4 separate regions of the Homo sapiens genome follow, and all the other regions are linked to region 2. The links are contacts of gene promoters, found by promoter capture Hi-C in blood cells and fetal thymus (Javierre and others, 2016). All regions are on one chromosome and are shown on one strand. Each heading gives the region's core, a stretch centred on a gene start or on the middle of the fragment in contact. The rest is flanking DNA. Distances are from core to core; before and after follow the strand shown. Region 1 overlaps TRIM36 (tripartite motif containing 36). Region 2 holds the start of SRP19 (signal recognition particle 19). Region 3 holds the start of TMEM232 (transmembrane protein 232). Region 4 overlaps SLC25A46 (solute carrier family 25 member 46).

What was found. The method cuts DNA at HindIII sites, captures the fragments that hold promoters and counts their contacts. A CHiCAGO score of 5 or more calls a contact.
Region 1: a contact is called between a fragment that was not itself captured here and the fragment with the promoter of SRP19 in region 2, in 1 of 17 cell types (fetal thymus). The highest score is 5.4, in fetal thymus.
Region 3: a fragment that was not itself captured here is called in contact with the fragment with the promoter of SRP19 in region 2 in 1 of 17 cell types (fetal thymus); the score reaches 7.2 in fetal thymus.
Region 4: a contact is called between a fragment that was not itself captured here and the fragment with the promoter of SRP19 in region 2, in 1 of 17 cell types (fetal thymus). The highest score is 5.1, in fetal thymus.

The regions. Positions count from the first base shown.
Region 1 is chr5:115,162,232-115,167,149 of GRCh38, reverse strand. TRIM36 (tripartite motif containing 36) reads left to right here. Exons shown (of 10, transcript NM_001300759.2): 2 at 3,398-3,632. Among named protein-coding and RNA genes, the nearest start is that of TRIM36, 5.2 kb to the left of the region's middle. The HindIII fragment of the contact is 4,022 bases long and covers 1-3,676 here.
Region 2 is chr5:112,858,139-112,862,605 of GRCh38, reverse strand. SRP19 (signal recognition particle 19) reads right to left here and starts at 1,319. Exons shown (of 5, transcript NM_003135.3): 1 at 1,189-1,319; 2 at 23-98. The coding sequence starts at 1,229. RefSeq lists enhancers at 1,022-1,321, 1,422-1,501, 1,260-1,554. The HindIII fragment of the contact is 2,166 bases long and covers 1-1,470 here.
Region 3 is chr5:110,722,867-110,727,615 of GRCh38, reverse strand. TMEM232 (transmembrane protein 232) reads left to right here and starts at 945. Exons shown (of 14, transcript NM_001039763.4): 1 at 945-989. The HindIII fragment of the contact is 1,192 bases long and covers 1,242-2,433 here.
Region 4 is chr5:110,742,827-110,747,669 of GRCh38, reverse strand. It overlaps SLC25A46 (solute carrier family 25 member 46), which reads right to left. Exons shown (of 8, transcript NM_138773.4): 3 at 3,883-3,940; 4 at 1,324-1,401. Among named protein-coding and RNA genes, the nearest start is that of SLC25A46, 6.2 kb to the right of the region's middle. The HindIII fragment of the contact is 6,336 bases long and covers 1-4,605 here.

The DNA of each region.
Region 1 (4,918 bases), core at 416-2,915, 2.3 Mb before region 2:
TGTCGCTTCACCAGCCAGAAACCTCTGTGGCAAGTGTTGCCTTTGCCCAAGTTTTGCTCAGGCCCACTGGGCTTGTTCTGCCCACTTGACCCAGCAGGCTGTGCTTGGTTTTCACTACTGGCCCAGATCCCACGGCTGCCAACGGCAAGCCAGGTGCAGAGCAGCAAGGGGTGCATGAGTGAGCGAGCGCGGGGTACAGTGTGCACAGCCAGGCATGGTGGCTGTGGCGGGGCAGGCAGGTCCAGGTGCCAGTATGGGCGCCGGCTCCTTGCTGTGGCTGGAACAGGTGTACCACAAGTGGCTCCCACTACAAGCACTGTGGAACATGGTGGCACCCAGAAACTTGGAGATGCCGGCAACTGCAGAGCCACAAAGAGGATGTCACAGCCCTGGCTTGGGGAGCTCCTAAGTCCAGGCTCCCTGAAGGGCTGCAGCTCTTCTCTCCTCTCTTGTCTCCTCATCGTCACCCACAACATGGCGAGCAGCAGGGTGTATTTGACACAGTTTGTGTTACAGCTTGTTTGGTCCTGCCATTTGGCAGGTCCAGAGTTCCTGTACTGTGTCCAGGAAGAATGAGCTACATGGACAACTGGAGGGTGAACAAGGTGCTTTATTGAGCAAAAGAGTAGCTCTCAGGAGACCTGTCATGGGTAGCTGCTTTCTGCAGGCAGTTCCTCCCGACAACTGCAGCTCTCAGCAGAGAAGAGACCCGGAGTGGGTACCTCCTCTCTGCAGGCAGGTCATTTTGTCGAGTGTGCAGTCCTCAGTGGAGAGGAGACCCAAGTGGGTAGCTCTTACCTGCAGGCAGGTCGTCCTATCATCTGCCAGAGTCTGGCTGAGTTTGCGGTTTTTATGGGCTTCAGAGGGGAGGAAGTGTGTGCTGATTGGCCCATGGGTGGCCATGGGTGGGCCTGGAAAATTCACTGTAAGTTTTCACTCCAGTCAGTGGAACTGGCAGCCTGGACCCTAGGCTTCAGGCTATCCCTGGCTTGAAGGTGGGGTTTCAGCAGGGACCTGTCCCTTTCCTCCCAGGAGCCTGTCTCCCTCCCACTGCTGTTCATGGTGCCCAGACTGTTTTAGCTGAGGGACGCCTGCAGTACCACGTTGAGTCACCCTCAGCCCTGCCCTTGGCCTCCCTCCCACGTTCATCAGCGCCCAAAGTCCAGAGGGAGCTGAGGTGGCAGGGGGCTGGTGTGTCAGCATCTCCTCAAGCACACACACACCTGGCCAGGTCATGTCAGTGCCCGGGCTTGGCCACAGCTTTTCTCCAAAGTCAGAGTGGGCACTGGGAATGGGGAGAGGCCAAGCAGTAGGAGCAGGCACTTCTGAGCATGTGGGGGAAGAGAGGCATCCTGGGCCCCCGAGAGCATAGGAATGCCCTAGTCCACAGCTGGGTGGCTGCAATTGCACCCAGGAGCATGGGGCTCCCTCCGCACCAACTCGGAAGGGAGAAGGGCTCCTGCCTGTTCCTGGGTCCCGCTGGCTCTGCAGAGCAAGCAGGTCCGGCTGTGCCTTCCCAACTGCAGCCAGCATCTTTGCAGCAGCTGCTCCAGATGGGCTGCAGCTGCCATCACTGGGACTTGGTGCCCTGTGTCCCAGCTGTTCCAGTACCAGTTGTGGCTAAAAGGGGCCAAGGTACAGTTCAGACCATTGCCTCAGAGGGTGCAAGCCTTGGTGGCTTACACATGGTGTTGGGCCTACCAGTGCACAAAAGTCAAGAGTTGAGGTTTGGAAACCTCTGCCTAGATTTCAGAGGATGTACAGAAACACCTGGATATCCAGGCAGAAGTCTGCTGCAGGGGCGAAGCTCTCATGGAGAACCTCTGCTAGGGCAGTGCAAAGGGGAAATGTGAGATATAAGCCGCCACACAGAGTCCCCACTGGGGCACTCCCTAGGGGAGCTCTGAGAAGAGGACCATGGTCCTCCAGACCCCAGAATGGTAGATCCACCAACAGCTTTCATCATGCGCCTGGGAAACCTGCAGATACTCAATGCCAGCCATGAAAGCAGGTGGTGTGTGGGCTGTACCCTGCAAAGCCACAGGGGTGGAACTGCCCAAGGCCATGGCAGTCCACCCTTTGGATCAGCGTACCCTGAATGAGAGACATTGAGTCAAAGGAGATCTCACTTGTGAGCTTTATGACTTAATAACTGTCCTTTTGGGTTTCAGACTTTCATGGGACCTGTAGCCCCTTTGTTTTGGCCAATTTTTCCCATTTGGAATGGGAGCATTTGTCCAATGCCTGTACACCCATTGTATCCTGGAAGTAACTAACTTGCTTTTGATTCTCCAGGCCCCTAGGCAGAAGGGACTTGCTTTGTCTCAGATGAGACTTTGGACTTGGACTTTTGAGCTAATGCTGAAATGAGTTAAGACTTTGGGGGACTGTTTGGAAGCATGATTGGTTTTGAAATGTGAGGACATGAGATTTGGGAGGGGCCAGGGCCACAATGATATGGTTAGGTTCAAATCTTATCTTGAATTGTAATCCCAAGGTGTTGAGGGAGAGACCTGGTGGGAGGCCATTGAATCACAGGGGTAGATTTTCCCCATGCTGTTCTTGTGATAGCGAATTCTCATAAGATCTGATGGTTTTGTAAGGCAGTATCCCTGCTCTTGCTCTCTCTCACCTGCCACCACGTAACACAGATCTGCTTCCCCTTCTGCCATGATTGTAAGTTTCTTGAGGACTCCCTAGCCATGTGGAACTGTGAGTCACTTAAATCTCTTTTCTTTATAAATTACCCAGCCTCAGGTAATTTTCTTTATAGCAGTGTGAAAATGGACTAATACATACTCATAAAGTGCTTTTAAGATAATTGCTTTGATATACAGCATGAGAACCTCAGGCATTAATGAAGAATGGTCGCATTTAATGTAGAAAATTGCTGATAATTCAGCTTGTAAATAGATACCAACTAGGTTTCCATGAACATACTGACTCAGCTAGTGTTTAATAGCTCCTGTTATTTGTCAGTCACAGTGTTAATTCACTAAATAAGAATATAGTCTTACTCTTAGTGCTGTATTCAAAATTTTTATTGACATGATCTACTTTTAGGATTTCACCGAAGTCCTAAATCAGTGCACTGGTGATGGAGATTCGAATGATGGCTTTATAATTTTTGATAAAATATCATGGTCCCCTAATATTTTACATAATTTTTCTCTTCATTTTTGCCTTTTACTATCTCATGTTCCTTCAGTTCTGGGTTATGGGTGTTGAGGGCAGTTGATGGTATCAAATTTTATTGGGGAAAAGAAATTTAAAATTTAGAAAATCATTTTCTTAATTCTTTTTGGAAAAATAAACACATGTACTTATTCAGGAGGTATAAGAATGTTAATATATTTACCCACTAAGAGCCTTTAACTTGGACTATTTTACTCTCAAGGTTACCATTAAGAATATCGAAAGGGAGCTCATTTGCCCAGCATGCAAGGAGCTGTTTACCCACCCATTGATTCTCCCTTGCCAACATAGTATCTGTCATAAATGTGTAAAAGAACTCCTGCTGACTCTCGATGATTCATTCAACGATGTGGGATCAGACAACTCCAATCAAAGCAGTCCTCGACTTCGGCTCCCCTCCCCTAGTATGGATAAAATTGACCGAATTAACAGACCAGGTATGTGTTAGAACTGTGGGCTGGGATGGTAGTGGGGGTAAGCTTATAGATATATATTCAGTGGTAACTGGAAGGAAAATTATTTTTGTCATCTTGAGAGTTAATTTTTCCAGGTGAATAAATTAAAACTGTAGTTATAAAGGGGCCTCCCCCACTGTTAAAATGTCAAAATGAACTCTCGTCTTTTGATACATACTTGAAGTAGATATTGGATATTGAACATGAACTTTGTGTTAAACTCCTTATTAACTGTGTTTGTAAGTCTGGGCACAGTGGCTCACACCTGTAATCCCAGCACTTTGGGAGGCCATGTCGGGTGGATCACCTGAGGTCATGAGTTCAAGACCAGCCTGACCAACATGGAGAAACTCCATCTCTACTAAAAATACAAAATGAGCTAGGTGTGGTGACGCGTGCCTGTAACCCCAGCTACCTGGGAGTCTGAGTCAGGAGAATTGCTTGAACCTGGGAGGCGGAGGTTGCAGTGAGCCGAGATCGCGCCATTGCACTCCAGCCTGGGCAACAAGAGTGAAACTCTGTCTCAAAAAAAAAAAAAAAGCTATGTTTGTCTTTAGGAATTATTCTGACTGTGCAATGTACTTGATACATAGAATAATGGACTACTGAAATACTAACTAGGAAAACATTCATATATGGTAATAGGAAAATAAATACTGCAGAGTTAAGGAGTGGGACTACCTAATGGCTAGTCATCACCTTTATGTTTCCTCCCTTGCTGCCAATCTGGCGCACTGAGGAGGGAAAGACAGCATCCCTTGAAATCAGTCCTACTAGATAAAACTTGATATTCTGCTGGTAGATCTTCATTGGCTAATTGGGAACCCATGCTTGATTGACCAAAGAAAACTTTTTGTATGTTAATATTTAGCAAAAACAAATAAAATTTTAGTTATGTACTAGATATTTCTACTTATAATTAGATTGCACTTATATACATATTTCACAAAATTCTGTAGGCTTTTAATGTTAAGATTTGGCTAGTTTTTTATGTGATTCATATGAAGAACAAGATGAATGATTTTCTGTTTTCAGGAATTTACCTGACATGGTACTCTGTAGATGCTTAATAAATATTTGTTGAATGGATGTTGAATGAGAAACCTCTGCCACAGGATTTGTACAGAGAGTGCCACAATGGCTTATATTCAGTAATAATGGCATTTGTCTTTTGGAATATGAGCTCCATTACACCATACATTTCACTGTCTAGATCCGAAATAGCATTACTGGGATGTTTCTCCCTCTTCTTTAGGAAGAACCCTACG
Region 2 (4,467 bases), core at 70-2,569:
AGGTGCCAGCCATCTTGCTTACCTTACTTATGGGGATTCGCCTTCCCTCTGCGATGGTCTTCTTATTATTTAAATAAGCAGGATAGATACAAATAAACCTGCCATAGACAATAGCATAAGTGGTATCACTAGAGCAGTAAGAGGCAGGAGAAAAGGGTCGGGTGGCAGGGAACCAAAGGCCAATTCATGCTGCCTAGATATCAGATGGGTACTCCCTTTTCAACCCCTCCTTTTTCTGCGTGGCAGTTGAAAAATCAAAGTACCTCGGAGTGGTCCCCTCGAGCAACTAATCAGACTGGCCGCGGGCCTACTCCTCTTTCTGATTGATCCCCCTCCCTCAACCAATCAGACTGGCACAGGTCAATGGGAAACGTCTAGAGGGTATTTAAACCCTAGAAAATTCTGTAACCAACAGCTCTTGGGTAGCTTGCTGGAGCCGGCTCCCACCCTGTGGAGTGTACTTTTGTTTAAAATAAATCTGCTTTCGCTGCCTTGCTTTGTGTGTTTTGTTCAATTCCTTATTCAAAACGCCAAGAACCTGGACAACTACACTCAACAGATAACAAGTATTTTCAAAAATACATTCTTTCGGTCCGTGGTAGTCGTCATCATTGCTGGTACACCTATGCTATTATTTGCTTAATGTTATTTCTTTAAATTACCTCACTTTAACTTATTTAAAAATAAACTTTATCCACTACCTTGGATGGAAAAAAACCACAGGAATAGAAACAAAACGACTTGGGTAACTGTTACATTAGACAGAGCAGCCCGTCAAAAGTTCCTGAGAATGGGCCCGCCCTCTTATATAAAGTGTCCGAGGTATTAAAAACCTTAAAATTTCACAAATGAGCCTTTCTGAACGCAACAATACTTAAAAAGAACACATTTCTCACACTGTGATTATATTACTTGATATCATGTCCACGTAGCACCCAAAATCCTTGTCTCGCGTACAGATAAACACTAGGCTACCTATGGTCGGAATTTCAGGAGCCCTGAGAAGAGCCTGGTGGCTGCTGCAGGATTCAGAAAAACGAGCTGCCAGGGAGAGGCGCGGGGCCCGTACAGAGCGAGTTGGATCAGCTAGGCCATTCTGGAGGCCGCGGAGCGGAGAAGCGCGGTGTAGCACCTGCAGCACCACAGCAAGCCCCTTCCTTTCGGAGGACCCACCGCCTCAGAACCCACCTGTCCTGGTCGGCCGGGGACCGCGCGGCAGCGCAAGCCATCTTCACAAGAGTCTCAACAACCCAGGAGCCGCAGGGAGAAACCCGGCAGAAACCCGGGAGGAACCCGGCTCTGAGTTTCCGAGACAGCCCGCTTTTCCGCCGGAAGTCCTGCCCAAGAAATGGTTCCGCGTCCGCGATTTCTCATCGCCTGTTTGTTCCGGCACCTGTCGCTCGGCGCCAGGATCTCTAGTCTCTGACGTGGCATGAAGACTTCCCTTCTCGCGAGAGAATCATGAAAGCTTCTCATTCCTTTCCCAAGCCGGGAAGACCATGTGGGGCGCATGCACCGCCACTAAAAAGGGTTTAACTTCGACCCTCCCTCGTTTCCAGTTTCTCAGCGAGTATGGGTGGTACTAGCTACTCTCTGTTAAGGGGCGAAGACTGTGCCACGAGGGGAATCTGTGTGGTTCAGGATGCAAATATATGTTAGACAGGGAAGGAAATACTCCTTACGTTTAATTTTTCTCCGTTCCTGGGCTCTAGAGCTTGCTTTCAGTTTGGCAAAATGGATTTTTGTAGTGGTAGAACTAGCAAAGTTATAGACGTTGTGTTTCAGTGTGCTCTGCGTTAGAAACTTAGCTATTCACCTTTTAGGCCGGGTGCGGTGGCTCACGCCTGTATCCCAGCACTTTGGGAGACTGAGGCAGGTGGATCATGAGGTCAGGAGTTGGAGAGCAGCCTGGCCAACATGCTGAAACCCCGTCTGTACTAAAAATACAAAAATTAGCCGAGTGTGGTGGCACACGCCTGTAATCCCAGCTACTCGGAGGCTGAGACAGGAGAATCACTTGAACCCAGGAGGTGGAGGTTGCAGTGAGCTGAGATCACACCACTGCACTCCAGCCTGCGTAACAGAGCAAGACTCCGTCTAGGAAAAACGAAACAAAACTATTCACCTTTTAAAACTTCTGAAGGATACCATGTGCCATCACTACAGGCATACTTCATTATTGCACTTCACTTGCTGCTGCGAGTAGATACTGCCTTTTTACAAATGGAAGGTTTTTGGCAAATCCGCCTGAAAGAAGTTGCTTGGTGCCATTTTTCCAGCAGCGTATACTTTGTGTCACATTTGGTAATTTTTGCAATATTTCAAACCTTTTCATTATTTCTGTTATGGTGATCGGTGATCAGTGATGTTTGCTGTTACTATTGTAATAGTTTTAAGGCCGGGTGCGGTGGCTCACGCCTGTAATCCCAGCACTTTGGGAGGCCGAGGCAGGTGGATCACGAGGTCAGGAGATAGACACCATCTTGGCCAACATGGTGAAACCCCATCTCTACTAAAATATAAAAAATAAGCCAGGCATGGTGGCACAGGCCTTTAGTCCCAGCTACTCGGGAGGCAGGGGAATCTCTTGAACCCAGGAGGTGGAGGTTGCAGTGAGCCAAGATCACACCACTGCACTCCAGCCTGGCGACAGTGCAAGACTCCGTCTCAAATAATAATAATGTTTTGGGGCACCATGAACCATGCCCAGATAAGATGGGGAACTTAATGGATAAATGTTGTGTATGTTTTAACTGTTCGACCAACTGGCCATTTCCCATCTCTCTCCCTCTTCTGGAGTCCCTATTCCCTGAAACACAACAATGTTGAAATTAGGCCAGTTAGTAACCCTACAATGGCCTCTAAGTATTCAAGTGAAAGGAAGAGTCACACGTCTCACATGTCAAAAGATGGAAATGATTAAGCTTAGTGAGGAAGGCATATGTAAGCCAAGATAGGCTGAAAGCTAGGCCTCTTGGCACCTAACAGCCAAGTTGTAAATACAAAGACAAAATTCTTGAAGGAATTAAAAGGAAATTACTTCAATAAACACACAAATGATCAGAAAGCAAAACAACCTTATTGCTGATATGGAGAAAGTTTTAGGGGTTTGGATAGAAGCTCAAACCAGTCACAACATTCCTTTAACCCAAAGCCTAATCCGAGCAAGGCCCTAACTCCCTTCAATTCTGTGAAGGCTGAGAAAGGTGAGGAAGCTTCAGAAGTGGGAAGCTAGTAGAGGGTGGTTCAGGAGGTTTAAGAAAGAATCCATCTCCATAACATATAACATAAAAGTGCAAGGTGAAGCAGCAAGTGCTGATAGAGAAGCTGCAGCAAGTTATCCAGAAAATGTAGCTAATATCATTGACGATGATCAATGATTAGCTAGTATCATTTAGTGGCTACACTAAACAACAGATTTTTCAATGTAGACAAAACAGTCTTCTATTGGAAAAAGATACCATCTAGGATGTAGCACCCAAAATCCTTGTCCCTTTGAGAGAAGTCAATGTCTGGCTTCAGAGCTGCCCCATTTAGTGGCTACACTAAACAACAGGTTTTTCAATGTAGACAAAACAGCCTTCTATTGGAAAAAGATGCCATCTAGGATGTAGCACCCAAAATCCTTGTCTCTTTGAGAGAAGAAGTCAATGCCTGGCTTCAAAGCTGCCAAGGACAGGCTGATTATCTTGTTAGGGAACAATGCAGTTGGTGATTTTAAGTTAAAGCCAATGGACATTTACCATGCAGAAAATCCTAGAGACCCTAGAATGATGCTAAATCAACTCTGCCTGTGTTCTCTAAATGGAACAACAAAGCCTGGATGACAGTACATCTGTTTACAGCATGGTTTACTGAACTATTTTTTTGAGACAGTCTCGCTCTGTCACCCAGGCTGGCATGCAGTGGCCCTATCACATCTCACTGCAGCCTTGACCTCCCACACTCAAGCAATCCTCCTACACAAGCCTCCTGAGTAGCTGGGACTATGGGCTCATGCCACCATGCCTGGCTGATTTTTATTTTTATTTTTAGTGGAGACAAGGTCTTGCTATGTTGCCCGGGCTGGTCTTGAACTCATGGGGTCAAGCAATCCTCTTGCCTCAGCCTCCCAAAGTACTGGGATTACAGGCGTGAGCCACTGCACCCAGCCTTTACTGAATATTTTTAAGCCCACTGTTGAAAACAACTACTCAGAGAAAAAAAAAAGAGATTCCTTTCAAAATATTACTGCTCATTGACAATGCACCTAGACCTCTAGACATCTAAGTTTCTGATGGAGATCTAGAAGGAGATTAATGTTTTCATGCCTGATAACACATCATCCATTCTGCAGTTTACAGATCAAATAGTAATTTTTATTTTCATCTCTTATTAAGAAATACATTTTGTAAAACTATAGCTGCCAAATAGTGATTCCTCTGATGGATCTGGGCAAGATAAATTGAAAACCTTCTAAAAAAGATT
Region 3 (4,749 bases), core at 588-3,087, 2.1 Mb after region 2:
TTTTCTTTAGATGGAATCTCGCTCTGTTTCCCAGGCTGGGGTGCAGTGGCATGATCTCGGCTCACTGCAACCTCCATCTCCTGGGTTCAAGCAATTCTCCTGCCTCAGCCTCCTGAGTAGCTGGGATTATAGGTGGGTGCCACCACGCCTGGCTAACTTTTGTATTTTTAGTAGAGACGGGTTTCACCATGTTAGCCAGGATGGTCTCGAACTCCTGACCTCGTGATCCGCCCACCTTGGCCTCCCAAAGTGCTGGGATAACAGGCATGAGCCACTGCGCCCGGCCTACGTATGAATTTAATCATAAATGCCCTTCCCCATTCTTCCATATAGTATTTTACACTGGTGAACCTTTGTAAAATATATACAGTTGCTCGTTAGTAGACATAGGAATTCTACAAGGATTTTTAAAGGACTTATATTAGATAATTCTATTGCATACTACCTTTAAAAAGAGGCGTTCTTTTGTGTTTAAATTCGCCCTCTGGTGTTTAGTACATAGCAGAACATTCTAGGTGCTTTGTTTACTCACTGACGGGTGCTGAGGACACTGACTGCTCCAAATTTTCTATGTAAAAGGAACTTACGAACGGCAATTTAATTTAAAGACATAGCTACTTTTGGTATGATAGGCGTGCTGGTTTGTTTTGGGGAAGCAGCATTAAGACACTGAGGAGACATTAAAGCACTGTGAAGCCGCTTCTTGCCGTGGCTTCTTGCAGGATATGCAAGTATGTACAATATTCGAAACAAATCATTACTATGTTCTTTAAAAACGAATAAAGGTCTTTCACACAACATTGCATTTATTCTTTAGAAATTGAACACAAATGTGGTGGAGACGGGACAGGGCAGGTGGAAATTCACTTATAAGTCCTGATTGGCTAAGCCCTGGTCACGAGACCGTAAAAGAGCAACGTCTGTCTCAGAGCGACTCCCACAGCGTCCTTAGCAACCAGCCTTGGTTCCCAGCGGCTCAGAGCGCAGCGGTGAGTGATTAAGAGGTCCTGCTTCAGATGATTTGGGAGCTCAGGTTATTGTCATATTCACCATCCTAGGGCAACTGAAAGACCCACAAAGATCCTCACAGGGGAATACTGAGCCTCCTTTCTCAGGGTGCCATAGCTTTGTTAGAAGAAACACTACTCGCAACCCCAGGCTGGGCCTGCTATCTGGGCCCCTCCTAAGAGTCTAAGCAGTCCATCCTGGAAAAGCCACCAGGTCGTTTGATAGGGGAAGCTTTTTTGTTGGGGAGAATAAAGGAGGTGGGAACTTTCTTATTGCTATGAATAGGGAAATTCATTTAATCTCCCCTGGACTCGCTTATCCTGGGGCAACCTTGAATTCAGAAGACCAGTCTTCACACATCCTCTGTGGTTGGTGAAATTGCACCTTTTTGATTTTTATTTATTTATTATTTATTTAGTATGAAGACTCTTGGACTTCAAAAGAGAAGGTTCAAAAATTTGGCGCTCTGTGTGTGTGTGTGTGTGTGTGTGTGTGTGTGAAAGAGAGAGGGGGGTATATTGGAGATGTGTAATAAAACAATTTTTAAAAGCCGTTAATCTTGAGAAAAATATCCAAGTTGTCTATTAGAAAAATTTCTAGGAGGGGATAAGACTGTAGTAAGAGTCTCTTATTTACCTTACCATCTTAACAGTATGTCTGAACAAATTCTATCATTTGGTTGGTCAAATAATTTGCTTCCTCAGGTTAGAGTCTAAATCTTATATTCTCTAATGCATGTTACCTTTCCAAAGTCTTGATATAATTTTAATATTATCTGTTTTTCAGAAATTGTCTTTTAAAGTATACAGTTTCAACCTCATTTTTATTGGAACTTTAAAAAAATACATGAAGAATTAATAGTAAAACTAAAAAAAGAAATCTGGGTCTGTGCCAGGTTGCAGATGAACTGCCAAGCACCCAGGCAGACTGCTGGAGCCATTTCATGAGCTGAAACATTTCTCTTTAAAGTATAAACATTCTTGGTTTGGGTAATCCACATACATACTTGATTGAAGGTAGCAGATTTTTATTTCACTAAGACCTATTCTGCATGGACCCTTATGATCTTAATGAGTAGTGCTATATTCTTGCTGAACGTCTGATTCATTATCAGAATCATTCATTGTTATGATAAATTTGATAAATGTTCCTGTCTTGAAGTTCATTGTCCATCCAGAGCTCCTGGTAAAGTGTCTGCTCACAAATGCTTAACATTTTCCAAAATGTGTCCTGTATGTAGTTCTAGGAGATGATGTTCTAAAGATTTCTTTAGTCAATAAATTTTAAAGTACTACATGTCACACTGCTACTCAGAGAGATGTAGAGTATATATGAGAATATTAACACTGAGAAATCTTAGTATATGCAAACCTACTTATTTTTGTCTAATCCAGTGGTTTCTCAAACATTTCACAACAGAAAGCTTTTCGAGGTAGTTTCATCCCAAGAAGCAGTATTTTACAGAATGTATTTTAGAAATTAATGTTCTAAACTATATATCACACTTTTTATTTTTGCTTATATTTCCATAAAACCAAATGAATTCATTTCTTTAAAATGTTTCCTGCTGATTCATTACAATACCAAAGAAAACAAATCTCTTTAAAAAATATACCACCTTAGTAAATTATTTTATTCCTATTACTTTCATTGCGTTTTCAACAGTAATATAATAAATCACTTGCTAAATCTATATCGACTTTAGGATTACTAGCTTCTTACTATAACATGGCAAGTTTTTTTGTTGAAACCATATTTTTAACATTATAATATTTATTATGTAGCAGGTGCTCTATACCTATCTGGTGAATGAATAAATAAAAGATAATTGATTTCTTTTTTAGAGTTCCTTTCTGCAGAAGACTAGTCATTTAACTATTTGGTGAATGAATAAATAAAAATAGTTGATTTATCTTTTAGGATGCCTTTCTGCAGAAGGCCAGTTAAATGATCTTAACAGTAGTCCACCAGAAAAATGATGAGAACCTAATCTCATGGCAGTGGCCGTGATCTAGGATTTGATTCCTGATTGTTTTGGGAAGTTATAGAGAGCATGGAATTGAGGATAACTCTGAAATTTCTAGCTTGTCAGTTTGAGTGATTATATTAACTGAGATTTATTAAAATAATACTGGATTAAGAGCAGTGTTTAGGGACCTGAAATGAGAAAATAACAGGTTAAGTTATACACAGTTTAGATGTTTCAAGTACTCGTCTTTGAGCTGGGTGCCCAGAATTCAGTTGGAAAACAAATCTAGAGCTCAAGAGAGGTCAAGATTGGAGGCAGCTGCTTGGGAGTCATTGTTCTACAGTGTGGTTTACAGTATAGGGATGGATGGCATCAACTCCAGAGAGGTGAGAATATGAAGAGAAGGGTATTCTGGCCACAGGACTGATGTGAATATCGAAAGATATAAAGTATGTGAAAGTACTTTGCAAACAATAAAGTCCCATGCAAGAGTTATTATTATTACATCCCAGAAGGCTTACTGAAGAAATAGGTTTGAACTAGGGTTTTCAGGAAGGTGTGAGATATCCTAGGATTGTATTTGATGGAATATAACAGAAACTCGTCTCCAACAACTTGACTGTGGTTCATCTCTAATGCCATAAATGTTCCAGGCTTCTGTCTTTGTGTCCCATCATCTTTGTATGTGGTTTTCATCTTCCTGGTCATCTCTTGATAGCAAGGTGACTGCTCTATCACCATTCTTATGTCTATCATCCAGGGAGGTAAAAGAAATTGGGAAGGGACAAGGAAGAAGGTACTGTGCCTCTATCATGAAAGTAAACTTTACCAACATCCCCTACTAAGCTTTAGCTAGAACTCATAGTTGCAAAGAAAGCTTCAGGAGAAATGTTTTTTAGCCAGAGACTTTGCTGCTCCAAACAAAATTAGGGTTGCTTTAATAAAACAATGGAAGAGTGAATATTGGATAGGAAGCTAGTGGTACCAAGAGATATAGCAGTCCCTAGGAGTATAGATGATAATGTATATAGGGAGAGTTGTGTAAACAGAAGTAATGCTTTGCTAATAGCTAACAGTCTATACAGATTTTGAGATTTTCAGGATACTCATTTAGAGTCTAATTTAAACATAATGGTACCCATGGATAATAATCTCAGTAGGCCCCCAAATATAAACAACTTGTGATCAATGTACTAGCCAAGAAGTAGCCATGATTTATTATATTTGAACTCTATTACATTGATACAAAAATATAATAGATATTTTGCCAAACAGGAAAGCACACAGCCCCACCTGTCTCTTACATTTGAGGTATGTTTCTGATTGAACACATAGACTTCAGGTTATGTGTCAACTGGTCTAATGCCTTAAAGGAATTTCAATTAAAAACAATAACCACTGCCAAAACTCACAAAGGAGAAAATAGATAATCTGAATAGACCTATAACTATTAAAGAAATGGAATCAATAATTAATAGCCTTCCAAAACAGAAAGTACCAGGCCCAGATAGGTTCACTGGTGAATTTTACCAAACATTTAAGGAAGAAATTATATCAATTATCTGCAAGTTTCTTTCAGAAGATAGAAGCAGAGGAAATACTTCCTAACTCATTCTTTCAGGCCAGCATTACCCTAATGCCAAAATAAGACAAGGACATTATAAGAAAAGAAAACTACAGACCAGTCTCTCTCATGAAAATATATCCAAATAGCCTCAACAAAATATTAGAAAATTGAATTCAACAGTAAATACAAAGAATTAACTCTGTGT
Region 4 (4,843 bases), core at 188-2,687, 2.1 Mb after region 2:
AAATCCATGCTCTTCTCCATACTTAACACTATTACTTTATATCAATTTGACTACAAGTTTCACTGTCTCTGGTTTTGCCCCTTTGCATGATACCATCAGTAATACTCCTATTATTTATCTATATTATCTATATTATTAATAGATATACATGATAGAATTAAAAAGAAGCAATAGGGTATCAGCTGAAAAGTCTGTCTCCTTTTCATCCCAGTCCTCAGCAGCAGTTTTAAAATTTATCGGGATAATCCATGCATATACAAGTATATCTGTGTGTGTATGTTATAGAAATATTTTTGTTTTGCTTATTTTTAACAGGTAGTATTATCTTGAAACATAAAAAATATCCTGGAGATCATTCCACATTAGTATACACAGAGCTACCCTCTTATTTTTAAAGGTTACAAGGTGTTTCACCATAATATACCATAATTATTTCACTGGTACCCTAGTGATGGACATTTAATCATTTCCAGTCTATTATATGCAATGTCATAGGACATCCTTGTATATATATTTTTGCATATATATGTGCACATCTATGTGGGATAAGTTCCTGGAAGTGAAAGAACATGTACATTTTAAATTTTAATAGATATTGCCAAACAATCCAAAGGTCTTCAAGATATTTTGGTCATGGCTAAAACACCTTCAACAGTACTCTTGTAGCTTTTAAGATCTAGTAGTGTGCAGTTCTTAGAAGGTGCTTTAGAATCTGGATCCTGCTTACTTCTCTGGCTACTTTTTCATCTTTCTCTTACTCTTCAACCCCCACTTCAAGCTCCCATTGTACTCCATTAAATCCATTCCCAAACATTATGATCTCTCTTTGTCTTCTGCCTTCACACGTCTACTTTAAAAACCTTTTCTCTATCCTCATCATGAAGAGTCAGACTTCTCAACAAGAAGCACACAATTCGGGCCTTTCTTTTCCCAAAGTTTTTCCCAGCCATACACTGTGCCCAAGCCCAGTTTTGATAAGGTACTTCTCTTTTGTATTCTGACAGCATTCTGTACTTCTAATATTGCCTTTATCTTACTGCAGCACAATCTTCAAAGATTTTGTCTCCATGAATAAATATGAGCCTCTTGATAGCAGAGACATCATCTTAGCACAGCTCTTTGTGGTTTTGCTAAATTAAATTGTACTTTTGCTAAATTACATTTTGAAAGATTCAAAAACATATCGTTGTGCTACTTTAGTTTTACTACAACAGTTAAGATGTTTTATTGACCAAACTGAAAGTAATTATTCTTGCTTTAATGATTACTAAACCCAAATGACACTTATATAAACCTTTAATAGAATCCAGACAAAATTCTCACCTGAGTTTTGTTGAAACTGTACATAATATTGATGACTGTAAATGGAGTGAGATGGTAATGCTGAGCATGGTAATTAACCTGTAAAAAAGATATTTCATTATTTTTTTCTGTTAATGTTTTGTCAAGAAATAACAGAGCCATGAAAGAAATATGGTGGAATTGCAGTATAAACAAAAGTTAATTCCAAAGTCAACATAAATTACACATAAGCAAAATTACTCTTAAAAGTGCTTTAAATAACCTATTAAAAGTACAGTATGTATGGTTATATAAATACAATCTGAAGACCAATGCATAATACACACAGTACTGTAGACTATATAATAAAGAGGGTCTTATTTGATATTTGGTTTGCCTTAAACAACTGAATTACATCTCCCAACTCATGTTCATTTTAGGCAAGCATTTTTCAAACTGTACTTGGCAACTGACTGGTATATGAAATCAACTGGGGGAGTGTCAAAACAATATTTATTATGTGAAACAATAAAATATTAGAATGTATTACATTCTAATGGTATTATTTCATAAAACATTTAAAAATAATATATTTGTTACTTATATGTAATGTATCCATTGGATCTCCATGTTAATATTACTACAATGTAAAATATATATCTGAAATACACTGTTCTGTGGCACATACAGTCAATGCTACTTTAATGGTATTTCTGTATACATACTTTTCAGTGCTAAGCATGAACAGATTAATTTATAATGATTTATACTGTTTTGAACTCTAACAGCTAACAAATACAGGAAGCATTACTTTACAGAGAAAGTGGGTTATAACAGGACGGGCGCAGTGGCTCACACCTGTAATCCCACCACTTTGGGAGGCTGAGGCGGGCGGATCATGAGGTCAGGAGATCGAGACCATCCTGGCTAACACGATGAAACCCCGTCTCTACTAAAAATACAAAAAATTAGCTGGGCACGGTGGCGGGCTCCTGTAGTCCCAGCTACTCGGGAGGCTGAGGCAGGAGAATGGCGTGAACCCAGGAGGCGGAGTTTGCAGTGAGCCGAGATCATGCCACTGCACTCCAGTTTGGGCAACAGAGCGAGACTCCGTCTCAAACAAACAAAAAAAAAAAGTGGGTTATAACAGAGTTTGCAAGTGGGGTCCACTGACTCCTGAGGGCCCCATTACCCTTTCAGGGGCTTGACAAGTTCAAAATTATTTTCCTAGTGATTACTAAGATATAATTTCCTTTTTTCACTGTCTTGACATTTTCACTAATGGTACAAAAGCAATGGTAGGTAAAACTCCCAGCTCATTAGCACAAATTGAGGCAGCACCATCAAACTGTATTTTCGTACTTACAGTAATTTTTCACCTCATTTACCCATAGAGAGAAAAAAGCAACCTTCATATAGTAATATCCTTGACAATGAAGTAACAAAATGTTAATTTTATGAATCCTTGACCTTTGAGTACACATCCTCTTTCTAATTAATATCCTGTGTGTTACATAAGGAAGTAAGATTGCTGTCATGAGGAAAGCACTTGTATGATAGAACTGCAAGCTAAACTAGCCACTTTTTTCACGGAACATCATTTTTACTTAGAAAAACTCATTGACGGACTATACCTATTCACTTTCAGGACAGACATATTTTAAAAAATAAACAAAGTGAGATTGTTGATTAAAACAAAAATAAATAACAGTATTTACTGTCAATGATAAGTTTGAATTTTCAACTAAAACTCAGAATTTTGGAAAATCTATATGCATCGTCAAGAGCTGACAATACTTATAGACTTTTCTAGTGAGATCAGTAGTATTTTTAATGAAGATGATTTTTTGATATTTTATAATCAAATGTTTTAACAACAGGAAGATCTATGTAACTCAATTGGTCAATATTTTTCAAATAACTTATGCACAATTACATGGAATCAGGCATAAGTAAAAATATCTATTCAAGATGCAGTATAGTTAAATGGATTTTTTAATGTAACAAAGTATAAAAAGTTCACTAAAATGATTTCTGATTTCACATTGCAAATAACCTTTAAGAAACTGCGACACAGTGAGTTTTGGTGCAATTGCAAAGAATACCCACAATTATCTCAAAAGAATATAATATACTCCTCTCCTGCTTTCAACTATACATGTGTACAAGACTAAACTTCCTTGCTTCTTTCAAAAACCACGTGATGCAACAGATTGACTGCAGAAGCATACGAGAGAAACTGGCTCTCTCCTATTATGTCAGATATTAAAGATATTTGCAAAAATGCAAAATAGTTACTTTCATAAAAACATATTATCTTACTAACAGGTGTTATTATTTTAATGAATTATATAGATGCATTGAAATTTTCCCAATTTTAATTTCTGAAATGGTAACTATCAATAGATATGACCAACATAAACCAAAGTTATTTAGGATCCTCAATATTTTTTTAAGACTTTAAAGAGGTTTTGAGACCAAAAAGTTTGGAACATTTCACATGAAGTAACAATTACCTGGTTTCATGTCATTTATGTGAGTTCTGCCCTTCATATTAGGGTCAGAAGTATTGCTTCAAAAGATCACAGAAATTACATTTACCTGACATTGGCGGCGTAGAACAATGCAAGGATGTGCCAATACATTTTCTGTAAAGAGACTATATAAAAATAATTTATGTATATGTATGTCTACATAGAGATAAATTAAATTTACAACAGGTATCTTTCTGAAATTATTCTTGCCTGAAGAATCATGCATTATTTTATGTTTTCCATTCTTAAACAAATTAAATAGATCTTTAAAAATGTCTAGAAATGTTTGCAAATGATTCTACCCATAACGAAATTCAATATGAAAAGAATGAAAACCAGATCTGCATACTAGTAAATAAGGGAAACAATACATAATACATAATATTAATGTCTATAGTATAAGATGAAACTAGATCTCTGAATGTTTAATGTGGGAAATGGCACATCAATTAAATGGCATTTAATGCTGCAAATTATTTCTTTCAGAAAATGTCCTAATAACAGAATTCCTATCAGCAGAGTCATTTGATCTTCATGAACCCCATTCTAAAAATGTTTGGTTTTGGTGCACTTAAATTATAAGGTTTAAGTATAAATTTAAGTATAAATCTTAAATTATAAGATTCTTAATGACCATGTTAATTGACTAATATTTATGTATCAAATATTTATTTTGAGAATGTGCCCCACAAAACAATTACAGCTGTGGGTTTCAGGTCTCAGAGTGACATATACATACATGTGCACACATATTTATATGTAATAATAGTCTATCAAATGAATCAAAGCTTTAAGTATAAATATTGAAGCAAAAAACAACTCCAGCAGAATGGAAAACACAGATTTTATTTATATTGACATTAACACCCTCGGGTTTAATTATGCAAATAAGGTGTTTTTCTTCGTTAAAATGTTTAAAATAATGATCATTATGGCATGAAATGTAAGCTTTGTGCAATTCCAATATTTTTGAAAATGGTATTCACTAAGGATCACAATAATCAAGACTAAAGGATTTTCTTAAAATG